Regions from separate parts of the Homo sapiens genome. Here region 1 is linked to region 2. Evidence: promoter capture Hi-C in human tissues and cell types (Jung and others, 2019). All regions are on one chromosome and are shown on one strand. Each heading gives the region's core, a stretch centred on a gene start or on the middle of the fragment in contact. The rest is flanking DNA. Distances are from core to core; before and after follow the strand shown.

Evidence for each region. Contacts are between HindIII fragments. The study calls those that stand out against the background at their distance.
Region 1: a contact is called between a fragment that was not itself captured here and the fragment with the promoter of KRT78 in region 2, in 1 of the 25 tissues and cell types used here (spleen).

The regions. Positions count from the first base shown.
Region 1 is chr12:52,241,125-52,247,051 of GRCh38, reverse strand. It overlaps KRT7 (keratin 7), which reads right to left. Exons shown (of 9, transcript NM_005556.4): 5 at 5,416-5,580; 6 at 3,915-4,040; 7 at 1,420-1,640. It overlaps KRT7-AS (KRT7 antisense RNA 1), which reads left to right. Exons shown (of 2, transcript NR_146274.1): 2 at 584-2,009. Among named protein-coding and RNA genes, the nearest start is that of KRT7-AS, 3.4 kb to the left of the region's middle. RefSeq lists enhancers at 2,213-2,362, 2,413-2,842, 3,236-4,211. The HindIII fragment of the contact is 8,834 bases long and covers 1-5,927 here.
Region 2 is chr12:52,844,245-52,850,243 of GRCh38, reverse strand. It overlaps KRT78 (keratin 78), which reads left to right and starts at 1,250. Exons shown (of 9, transcript NM_173352.4): 1 at 1,250-1,697; 2 at 2,123-2,337; 3 at 3,420-3,480; 4 at 3,952-4,047; 5 at 5,521-5,685. The coding sequence starts at 1,314. The HindIII fragment of the contact is 16,568 bases long and covers 1-5,999 here.

The sequences.
Region 1 (5,927 bases), core at 3,047-5,546, 610 kb after region 2:
GGGTTGGGGGAACCATATCCTCTCAGAGTACCCGGATCTAAGCCTGGTTACAGCAGCTCAGACTGAGATTAAGCTTTCAGAAGAGGATGTCTCTGCGTGCTGTGTGACCTTGGGCACACTACTGACCATTTCTGAGCTTCAGTCCCCTTTTCTTCCCATGGGAGGAAGCCAGATCAGGTACCACTCTAAGAGTCCCCCAACTCTGACTTCTATGACAACAGAAGGCCCAGGGTATGGGTTGTAGAGAATTTGGGGGCCCTGTGCCTGTGGGAGAGGCGAAAGCAGAGAGAGGCATCTTGGCTGGAGCTCCCTGTGCCCAGATCAGCTTCTGTGTTCCCAGAGACTTTTGGTGTTAATTCTTCTTCCCACAAAGAAGACTGGGTGCTAACCCAGGGAGAAGGCGGGTCAGCAGCAGGGGCAAAGCCCCTTCCTCCTCCTCTCCGCCTCCTACTCATACCCTGCGGCCCTGTGTCTCCTCTTCTCCTCCCAGCACCCAGGCCCTCGGCCCTAGCACCCCTTCACTCCCCATTCCCTTCCCTGCTGCTCCATTCATCCTCCGTCATGTCTCTCTCTGGCCCCTTAGGAATAATACTCAGAAAAGAATAAGTTCTTGTATACACTCAGCATTTTACAAATGTAAGTTACTGGTCTCTGGGGGTTTCCTCTGTGGATGTTTTGTCTCCTCCACCCTCTGCAACCTCCCTGAGGGCAGAAACATGTCCTACGTATTCTCTGTTGCCATGGTGTCTTATAACAAGCCAAGAATGAAGAGGTTGAGTTCGAACCCAACAATATGCCCATGAAGGCCCAGCTGCATAGACAGAGGTGGCATGCGGTTCATGAAGAATGTGCTATCAGACTCCCCCATTCCAGCCTCCTCTCTGACTGCAAGTGAGTCTGCAAATATCTCTGGGGACAAACAAAACGATCCCCCTCCACCACAGTCAGTTAGCCCCACATGATGTAGCACTTAGTTCTGTAGTGAGAAGCAGCCTGGCGTCCTGGAAGATCCTTGGAGCAGGAATCAGCACACCCTGACTGCACTCTGGCCCTATTCCCTCAATTAATGAAACTCAACCACAGCTTTCCCCTCTGGAGACTAAGGAATCAATCGTCTCTGACCTGACTACCTGAATGTGTGCTGAGGATCAAATATGATAACCCTAAGAAGCCGCACACACAAAGGGACTGTTATCATTTCAACCTGCCCACTGAGCTTCACACTCCATGGTCTTTCCTTCTAGAAGGTCATCTCATTGAAGGCAAAGAGGCAAGCATCAGCTCTGTGTTCCCTGCATCCCCACACCCAGTGCCCTGCAGAGGAGGGGCATACAGGAAATGCTTGTAAATGGATGAATGTCAAGCCCCAAACCCCACGGAGCCCTAGAAGCATCCCCTTTCCAGGTTCCTTGTCCTCACCGGCTCTCCTCGCCCTCCAGCAGCTTGCGGTAGGTGGCGATCTCGATGTCCAGGGCCAGCTTCACGCTCATGAGTTCCTGGTACTCACGCAGCTGCCGTGCCATATCCTGCTTGCCCCGCTGCAGGGCGGCTTCCAGCTCCTCCTGCTTGGCACGAGCATCCTTGAGCGCCAGCTCCCCACGCTCCTCAGCCTCGGCAATGGCGGCCTCCAACTTGGCACGCTGTGGGCAGCAGTGCAGCTGTAAGCTGGGGCTCACCAGTCTGCCTTCCTGCCTGCCCATCCTGCAGTGAGCACCCGGGCAACTTGCTTAAGGTGGCTTCATTGGCACCACCTACTCCCCCAAGTACCAGAGAATCCTAAGGGTTAAACACATAGGTTTGGATATCCAACGCCTATGTTCCAGTTCTGGCTCTGCCACTTACTAGCTGTGTGACCATGGATGAATCAACCCTGCTAAGCCAAAGTCCCCTCTTTTCTAAGAGAACATCAGGAGATTTTGAGGATGAAATGAGATAATATACAAGATGTCCGTGGCACAATGTCTAGCACACAGCAAGTGCTTAATAAATGCTATTGTGATCATTTTTAATGAATGCTATTATGATTTTCAAACCCCCAGTCCCCCAGCCCCAGCCCCCAGCTGCAGGAGCTCGAAGACCATGGGATCTTAATTGAGTCTCCAGATGTCAGGCAGCTGACAAAGACCAGAAACCACCTATAAAATAGGAACCAGTTGAGAGCAGGCGCAGAATAGGAGGGCCTGGAGCAGAGAGACCCTCCTAGATGCCCCCAGATGCCATGAGATGCATGACTCACAGTCCCCGGGTTTGGTCAGGGATGCTCTGGTTCCAGACCTGTGCCTGCCTGGAGCAGCTGCCACTTTCTCCCTGGCCTTAGAGTGCCCTCTGCTTTAGGCTCAGCCCCCACTGCCAGGAGCCTGAATAGTCCCAGGCCTCATCTTGTTTAGCTCAGAAAACCACCATCCCTGTCCCCTGGGCAAGGACTTCTCTCCCTTCTTACCGGCCATTCTCTATCCTCAGATCCTCTTCCCTCAGTGGAGGCAGTCTGCCTCTCTGCCAGAGACAGCATTCCCCAGGAGGCCCTCTGACACTCTGCCCCTCGGCCACAGCTCGGTGCCCTGCCCTGTCACACTGGTGCCCCCAGAGCCAACGCCATCCCCGCTGCCTCTGGAGACCCCTTGTAGCTCCCCATGACGCCCCTCAGTGGTGGTAGACACCTGGCTATAGGCCTGGATCCGCCCTGTTGTGTGAGAGGAGAACCGGATGTAGTAGAGGCTGCAGGGTTTGGGAAACCACCATTTGTTATTCTGTGCTTCCCCTCCTGGCCTGGAAGCTGGCCCACTTCATGGGGTGACTCACGGCCCTGCCTCTGTGCCCCAAGGCAGCCTCCGCCCTCCTGTAAACAGGCCCACAGGGCTCCAAGGGGAGGACATTTGTGGGTAAATCACCCTCACATCCCCCCACCACCCACAGCTCATCTGGAAATCAGCTTTCCGAAGCTTCCACATGTGTGCCCTCCCCCTCTCTCCACTGCAGACACCTGCACAGGCTGAGCTGCCCTGGCCACACACTACTCAGCCAGGGCTGGGGGCCCTTCCCCCATCAACACCTCCAACCCCAGCTTCCAGCAAAGCTCATCCTCCCAGGCAGTCTCTCATCTGAGACCCGTGCCCCTGCCATGTGCCAGGTGCTGGAAGAGAGGAGCAGTGAACCAGACAGACAGGGTCCCTGCTCTCCAGGCATCTGTTATATTCCAGTGGAGGTAGGGACCATCAATCACTTAATGAATAAGACAGAACATTTCAGAGAGTGACAGGGGCTTCAAAGAACTTCAGACAGGCTGCCGATAGAGGGGCTGGTGTTTGAGAGTGCCGTCTCTGAGAAGGGGTCTTTTCCTAAACCCCAGGGAGGAGAAAACAACAACCATGGACAGAGCTGGGAGAACCACATTCCAGGGGGAGGCAACGCCAAGTGCAAAGGCCCTGAAGCATGACCATTCTTGGCAAATGCAAGATGCAGGAAGCAGGTTAGCATGGCCAGAGCAGAGTGAGGGGAATCGTGGAAAGTGAGGTTGGAGTGGGTGGGAAAGGGCCATGTGAGTCATTATAAGGTCTTCTGCTGTCCTCTGTCCCTGCAATGAATGATGAGCTCCCAGGGACAGCGCCCTGCAGCCAGAACCAGGTGCAAGCAGAGTGCTCAGTATCAATGTGGAACCAGTGGTGGCTTTCTTCTGGCCAGCCAGCCTGAGTCTCCCTCCACAGGCTCTGTGCACATCCAGGACCTTTCTCCCATCAGCCCATGCCAGGACCTGGCCAAGAACATTCTGTGCTGGAGATCTCACAAGGGGGTCTGAGACAGTGGCACCAGCTTTGGCCGGGAGATGGGAACCTCCTGCTCCACATCCTGAGTTTGGCCTCAGCTGGCCACCCCTGCATGCCCCAAGTAGCAGGGGAAGCCAGGAGGACTTGTCCCACCTGGTTCTTGATGTTGTCGATCTCAGCCTGCAGCCTCTGGATGGCCCGGTTCATCTCTGAAATCTCATTCCGGGTATTCCGGAGGTCGTCCCCATGCTTCCCAGCCTGGGCCTGGAGGGTCTCAAACTGGAGGGGCCATACAGAGAGTTATGGCAGAGAGATGGGCAGTGAGTACAGGTAACTCATCCCTCTCCCCACCCAAGGCCCCTCCCAACTTATATTTTCAGGGAAGGACAGTCTGACTCCCATCAACCTTTGCCCGATGCCAGGAGACCAGACAGCAGTGTGAGGAAGGGATTCATTCTCCTCCAAGCCAGGCAGGGAGGACAGACAAGGCTCCGCAGTCCCATCCCCATGGACCCCAGGGCTCTTCCACTCCCACCATGCCCTTCTGCTGGAGAATCACTGAGAGTTTGAGATTCGCACCCATTCAACACCCAGAACACCCATTTCACAGGTGAGGAGAGTGAGTCTTGGAGAAGAGAAAGCACCACCCAGGGATCACACAGCCAATCAGTGATGGAACGAGGGCCTGAACCCAGGTCTTCTTGTTGGCATACTTGTGTTCTCACCCAGGCACCATGAATGACTCTCTATCTCTGCAGGGGCAGACCTCTCAATCCTTGCCTCGGGATCCCTTCTTCAGGAACACTGGTTCACCCCAGCACCCACTCCTGCTCCCTCAGCCCCTGCACCATCAACTGTCCTGCCACCATGAAGTAGATGTGATGATTAAGCCTCCCAGGTCTAGGGCCCTCACATTCAGGATTTAGTCCCTGCTCTTCCATCTACTAGCTGTATGCAGTTAGGCAAATTACTTAACCTCTCTGTGCCTCAATTTCCTCATCTTTAAATGGGGGTAATAGGCTGGGTGCGGTGTCTCACGCCTATAATCCCAGCACTTTGGGAGGCCGAGGCAGGTGGATCACCTGAGGTCAGGAGTTTGAGACCAGCCTGGCCAGCATGGTGAAACCTCGTCTCTACTCAAAATACAAAAAAAATTAGCCAGGCATGGTGGTGCACACCTGTAGTCCCAGCTACTCAGGAGGCTGAGGCACGAGGATCACATGAACCAGGGAGGCAAAGGTTGCAGTGAGCCAAGATCGCACCACTGCACTTCAGCCTGGGTGACAGAGCAAGACTCCATCTCAAAAAATAGAAATAAAATAAATTAAATTAAATAAAACAAAATGGGGGTAATAATGATGCCTATCTAATAGGGCTGTTCTGTGGATTACATGAGTCAATAATTACATGAGCCTAGTACTGTGTAAGTACTTGCCATATTTTAGCTATTATAATGATTAATCCATATCTATTTCCTCTGCCCTGTCCTCCCATCTTGGGATTTTCTCCAGGGCTGAGCACCACAGACTTAAACCACTGGTGCCTGCCAGAACAGTGGGACCCAGGCCCTGAAGGCTTGAGACAAGTTGAGGAGTAAGGGAAGCTGCCACCAAGGACCCTGGCAGGAGGAAATACGCCCCTGGTGGCCTCACACCTTGGTCTGGTACCAGGCTTCAGCCTCAGCCCGGCTGCATTTGGCCATCTCCTCATACTGCGCCTTGACCTCAGCGATGATGCCGTCCAGGTCCAGGGAGCGACTGTTGTCCATGGACAGCACCACAGATGTGTCGGAGATCTGGGACTGCAGCTCTGTCAACTCCTGTAGGGACCAGACGGGACATCAGGACTTAGGGCAGGATCCTATGCCCACGCCCACCCTGGGATTCCCCACTCACAAAGGAAAGAAAAGAGAGAACAGCTGGGAGTGGGCTGAGTCACCAGGCAGCAAGGGGGCCCAGACCCAGCACACATTAAGTTACTTCATTCTGCCCACCCTTGGCTCCCTGAGGGCCCATTAGCAGTGTCTCAAACGAGAATCTGGCAGGGTTAAAGGGGATAAGGAAAGGGACAGTGTGGTGCGCTGTGGTGACTTCTCACTGTGAGGTTCTGTAGGTGCACGAGCTCTATTGTGAGGGAGGCCATGGGGAATGGATGAAATTATCATAT
Region 2 (5,999 bases), core at 1-2,500:
TTACAGGTGCCTGCCACCACGCCTGGCTAATTTTTTGTATTTTTAAGAGACGGGGTTTTACCGTGTTAGCCAGGATGGTCTCGATCTCCTGACTTCGTGATCCACCCGCCTAGGCCTCCCAAAGTGCTGGGATTACAAGCGTGAGCCACCGTTCCCAGCTTAGGAGTATTTTCTAAATGCACCTTGCTTTTTTTTTTGAGATGGAGTCTCACTCTGTTGCCCAGGCTGGAGTGCAGTGGTACGATCTTGGCTCACTGCTCAACCTCTGCCTCCTGGGTTCAAGCAATTCTCCTGCCTCAGCCTCATATGTAGCTGGGATTACAGGTGTGCACCATCACACCTGGCCAATTTTTGTATTTTTAGTAGAGATGGGGTTTCACCATGTTGGTCAGGCTGGTCTCAAACTCCTGACCTCCAGTGACCCACCCACCTCGGTCTTCCAAAGTGCTGGGATTACAGGCGTGAGCCACTGTGCCCGGCCCTAAATGCACATTTCATTTCAGAGCCTGGGTGGCTCTGATTTGTAACCTCAGGAAGCGGAGCCTGATGGCAGGTGGATGGGCCTGGCCCCAAGTGCTTGTGGAAGGAGCAGAGCCACAGGCTGGGTCAGAAACGTGCTGTCCCATGCGATCCTGGATGGAGATGCCTGATTTCAGTGGGTGGTGCCTCATGGATGATTGCTGGGTTGGGCAAGAGGAAGGACTTGGAAACCCTGTTTTTCTGTTTCATTTCCAAATCCTGGAGTGTCTTTTAGCCAACTATGGCAATAACACCTCCACTAACCTCCTCTCTTTGTGGCGCTGCAAGTGCCTTCCTTCTCCAACTCCTTGAGGCAGATTCTCCCTTGAGAATCCAGGGCACTCTGATGCTTCCTCTGAACCCCTTCTAGCGTTCTTTCCTCTTCAACCTCCTCTCGCTTCCCTGTCTCCTTCAGGAAGCCTTCCCTGAGGGCCTCAGTGACTTTGCTCCGGCCATCCCTCCCTGTCCCTCAGCACTGACATCCCAGTCTCCTGCCTGCTTCCTTGTCTTTGGGCATGCCTATTTCTCCAACAGCCTGGGAGCTCTGAGGGCAGGGTCTGGGTTTCCTTCTCCCTTGGCTCTGCACGTGCCGGACACTTATTCTCCAGGCACGTCAGAGTAAGTCAGCTGGAGCCAAGTGACAGACACAGTCAGGTCAAGAGTATCTTGCTCTCCAAGGCCCAGCCCAGGTACGGGAGTGGATAAAAGTCTCGTGCTGGGGCCCCAGGGCAGAAACTCACACACCTTGACAATCTGTCTGTCCGTCTGCAGCTGCGTGACTGTCTGTCTCTGCCATGTCTCTCTCCCCATGCCGGGCCCAGAGGGGCTTCAGCGCTCGCTCAGCCTGTTCTGCTCGCTCAAGGGGCCGCAGCAGGGGAGGCTTCAGCAGCAGGGGCGGCTTCAGCAGCAGGAGCCTTAATTCCTTTGGGGGGTGCCTGGAAGGCTCTCGTGGGAGTACCTGGGGGTCAGGGGGTAGGCTGGGGGTGCGGTTTGGGGAGTGGAGTGGTGGGCCTGGGCTCTCCCTGTGCCCTCCGGGGGGCATCCAAGAAGTGACCATCAACCAGAATCTGCTGACCCCACTGAAGATTGAGATCGATCCCCAGTTCCAGGTGGTGCGGACGCAGGAGACCCAGGAGATCAGAACCCTCAACAACCAGTTTGCTTCCTTCATTGACAAGGTGAGGGTCAACTCAGCCAAGCCCCTGTCTCTGTGCCTCCCTTGGAGGAGCTGCTCTTGATGGACTTGGAAATGGGAAGTTTGGCCTCCTTCTACCACTTTTCTAATAACTTCTGCAGCAAAGAAGTCCCTCCTGTGGACTAACTGGACTCTCTCTGGCTATGCTGAGGCCCTGTTGTTCCATGATTGGGGCTCAGGGACAGAGAACTGCCAGCCAGCGGGGGGAAGGCCCTGCCCCATTAGTCAGTCCAGTCATTTTGTTGTGTTCAGAGTGTCATGGAAGGTCATGAGGCTTCCCCTGCCCAGGTTGGGCAGGGGGACAGGGGAAAGGTGAGGCTGATGGGAGGGTCCCTCAGGCTTTACTTTCCAGAGGCTGTGCACAGGGAGTCCCACAGGAGCCTCAGGGATCCTCTGCTTTTGCTGCAGGTGCGGTTCCTGGAGCAGCAGAACAAGGTCCTGGAGACGAAGTGGCATCTGCTGCAGCAACAGGGGTTGAGTGGCAGCCAGCAGGGCCTGGAGCCTGTCTTTGAGGCCTGCCTGGATCAGCTCAGGAAGCAGCTGGAGCAGCTCCAGGGAGAACGAGGGGCTCTGGATGCTGAGTTGAAGGCCTGCCGGGACCAGGAGGAGGAGTATAAGTCCAAGTAGGCACACTGAAATTTCCCCATGCCATGTGGGCGGGGTCTGGGATGACTCAGTTTGGGTCTGTCAGCCAGGAGGTGTCCCACATACTGAGCACCCAGAGGCACATGACTGGCCTCCCCTCTACCCCTCCGCGTCCCCATTCCCCAGGCTCTCAGGTGCCCACCTGCTACAGGTAAACGAGGTGTCCCGCAGTCCCCAAGCAGATCTGGAGAACCTTGGAGGAAAGGCAGGGAGACCGGTGTCCTACATGCCCCAGCTACAAGGGCCCATGTTTCCGGTCAAGGCTGGGAAGGGCTTATTTAAACAATGCCCCAGTGGCTTTTTTTATTCTTGAGAAATTCCTGTTCAGCGGGCTGTGGGCTAAAGTGATTCAGATGTTCTCTGGTTCCAAAGAGGGAAGGGAATCAATTTAGTGGGGCTGTCCCCAGGCCTGTGACACAATTCACAGATGGGCTGTGGTTCTGGGCTCCACGCCTAGGTCACCTGGTGGAGTGGAGAGAGCCCTGGACTAATAGGGGGCTTGGGTTGGGGCAACTGTGAGTGAGGGGTAGCTGTGCATCCTGGGCAAGGCATCTCATCTCTCCCGGACTTGGTTTCCCTTCTGTAAACTTGGGAAATGTCACCTGCCCTTCTGGCCTCCCAGGGCTATTGGGATAATGGGATGTGAGGTGGAGGAAGGAAGGTTCTGGAAGGAGCCCTGGATTGGGGTCAGAAGACCTGGGCTGGCTCTGCTTTGTCTACCTAGTCATCTGTGGGGTCTTGGTCAAATCATCTAATCTCTCTGATAAAACCCAAACTGCCTACCTCAAGTGATGGGTGTGAGTAGCAAGTGGGAAAAGGTATTCGAATGTGCCTTATAAACTGAAACAATGTGGCTGTCGTCATCAAAAGGACATGGGCTGAAAGGGTGGCACAGGTACATAGCTAGGACGTGGCAGGAAAGGAGAGAAGGGCTGGTTATTGTCTTGTTTGGGGGCATTCTAAGGCAAGGAGTCCTTTTCAGGGAGGTCATGCTCGGACATGGGGGCATGAGCTCTGACCGTGGAGCCTCAAACTGCATCCTTCTCTACTTATTTGGCAGGTATGAGGAGGAGGCCCACAGGCGTGCCACACTTGAGAACGACTTTGTGGTCCTCAAGAAGGTGAGGGTGGGGGCCAGTGCTCCACTTACGTTCTGAGCATCCACTGTGCACGGAGCCTAGTCCTAGGCTGGGAGGGAAAAGGTGGGAGGTCCTGATTTAGGACAGGCTATCACTCTACCTGCAGGGGTCCCCTGGGAAAATGGGACATCTGCCTAGACACAGGGGCCCCAAGGCAAGATCTGACTAAAGGACTGCTTGACGAGCTCTTGATGTCACTGCAGGAGAGGGCGGGGAGGGAGAGGAAGAAGCAGAACTGGTTGTGATTAATCAGGGAAGACTTCCTGAAGGTGATGTTGGGTCAATGTTGGGCAAAGGAGAGAGCAGGACAGAGTGGGGCTGGAGGAGGAAGGAGGGGGTCTTGGGAGGCATGGTGGATGGGTGTTGAGCAGTGCATGAACAGAATTCCTGAGCCAGAGTAGGGACCCCAAAGAGGAAGAGGGGGTTACGTGTTCTCTCTCCCCTTGTCTCCAGGATGTGGATGGGGTTTTCCTGAGCAAGATGGAGTTGGAGGGCAAGCTGGAGGCTCTGAGAGAGTACCTCTACTTCTTGAAGCATCTGAATGAAGAAGTGAGGCTCAACCAAAGGGCAGGCTGCAGCCAAGAGAGAGGACTGGGTGGGCAGGCTTCCTGTGGCCATGAGGAGAATGGCCAAGAGGGGAAGTCTGTTAGGGTGGCTTAGATTCTGGGTCATTCAGTCACTTGACAACCAATTACTGAAAACTTACTATGTGAATTGCTAGGTCCTGGGGATACATCAATGAATAACCAGAAAAAAATCACTACAGATAAAAAAATTGCTTTTTTTTTTTTTTGAGATGGAATCTTGCTCAGTTGCCCAGGCTGGAGTGCAGTGGTGCAATCTCAGCTCACTGCAACCTCTGCCTCCCGGCTTCAAGCAATTCTCTGCCTCAGCTTCCCAAGTAGGTGGGATTACAGGCACCCGCCACTGCGGTCAGCTAATTTTTGTATTTTTAGTAGAGATGGGGTTTCACCATCTTAGCTAGGCTGGTCTTGAACTCCTGACCTCATGATCCACCCGCCTCGGCCTCCCAAAGTGCTGGGATTACAGGCATGAGCCACCACGCCCGACTAAGTTTGCTTTCTATTGGGAGACAGACAATAAGCAACAGACTTAGTAAATAAGGAAATCATATAGTATGGAAGAAGGTGATAAACGCAATGGAAAAAAGGAAAATGAGAACAGAGAAAGGAGGATTGGGAACATGGAGCAGGTGCCAACTTCAAATCATGTGGCCAGGGTAGGCCTTATTTAGGAGATAAAATCTGAGCAAAGATTTGGAGGAGGTGAGGAAGGTCACCACGCAGGTGGGTTTCTGGGATTCCAGGCAGTGGCTGCAGCCCACAGCGGGAGTGTGCTGTCTGAGGAAATGCAGGAAGGTCGGTGTGGCCAGAGTAGTAGGAGCGAGAGGGAGAGGAGTATGATAAGAGGTCTGAAGATGGCTGGGCACGGTGGCTCATGCCTATAATCCCAGCACTTTGGGAGGCTGAGGCAGGTGGATCACCTGAGGTCAGGAGTTCGAGACCAGCCTAGTGAAACGCTGTCGCTACAAAAACACAAAAATTAGCCAGGCTTGGTGGCAGGTGCTTGTAATCCCAGCTACTAGGGAGGCTGAGGGAGAAGAATGGCTTGAACCTGGAAGGCAGAGGTTACAGTGAGCCGAGATCACACCACTGCACTCCAGCCTGGGCAACAGAGTAAGACTCCATCTTAAAAAAAAAAAAGAAGAAGAAGAAAAAAAAAAGAGGCCTGAGGAGTGATGGGGGCTGGGTGATTTTGGGCCTTGCAGGCCATTTTCCATTAATGTCCAAGCTGCAAGAGACTTCAGAGACCACCTCCTATGGCTCTCATTTTTGAATGAGGAGATCGAGTCCCATGGTGAGCAGGGCATACTCAAAGCCACCTGGGATGAATGGGGGTCATGGCATGTAAGCAGAAATTCATCATCCTGCTCAACCATCCTAGGCTTCAAGGGGAGAAGGAGCTGGGGGTGAGTGGACACTGAGTCTGTCTTCCCTGCAGGAGCTGGGCCAGCTCCAGACCCAGGCCAGCGACACGTCTGTGGTGCTGTCCATGGACAACAACCGCTACCTGGACTTCAGCAGCATCATCACTGAGGTCCGCGCCCGGTACGAGGAGATCGCCCGGAGCAGCAAGGCTGAGGCTGAGGCCTTGTACCAGACCAAGGTGGTGGGACCTGGGGGGCAGCACCATGCTGGAAATGGCTAGGTCTCCATGCCCAAACTCTAGGGTGGTCATCCACCTCGATCCCATTGGGGCAGTTCCAGTTACCTCCCTGAAGGTCTGGGGCTGGGTGGGCAGGGCCATTTCCCCTCCAGGAGGGAGGCGATGCAGAGGAACCGTGGGAGATAAGCTTGGACTTCTGGAAGTATATCCCACTGTGTCCTGGCTCAGGCGTTTAACCCACACTCCAAATAAGGAGTGAGAGGTGGCTTTTCAAACATGAGGAGATGGTCAAAGGTGGCAGTCCTCTCAACTAA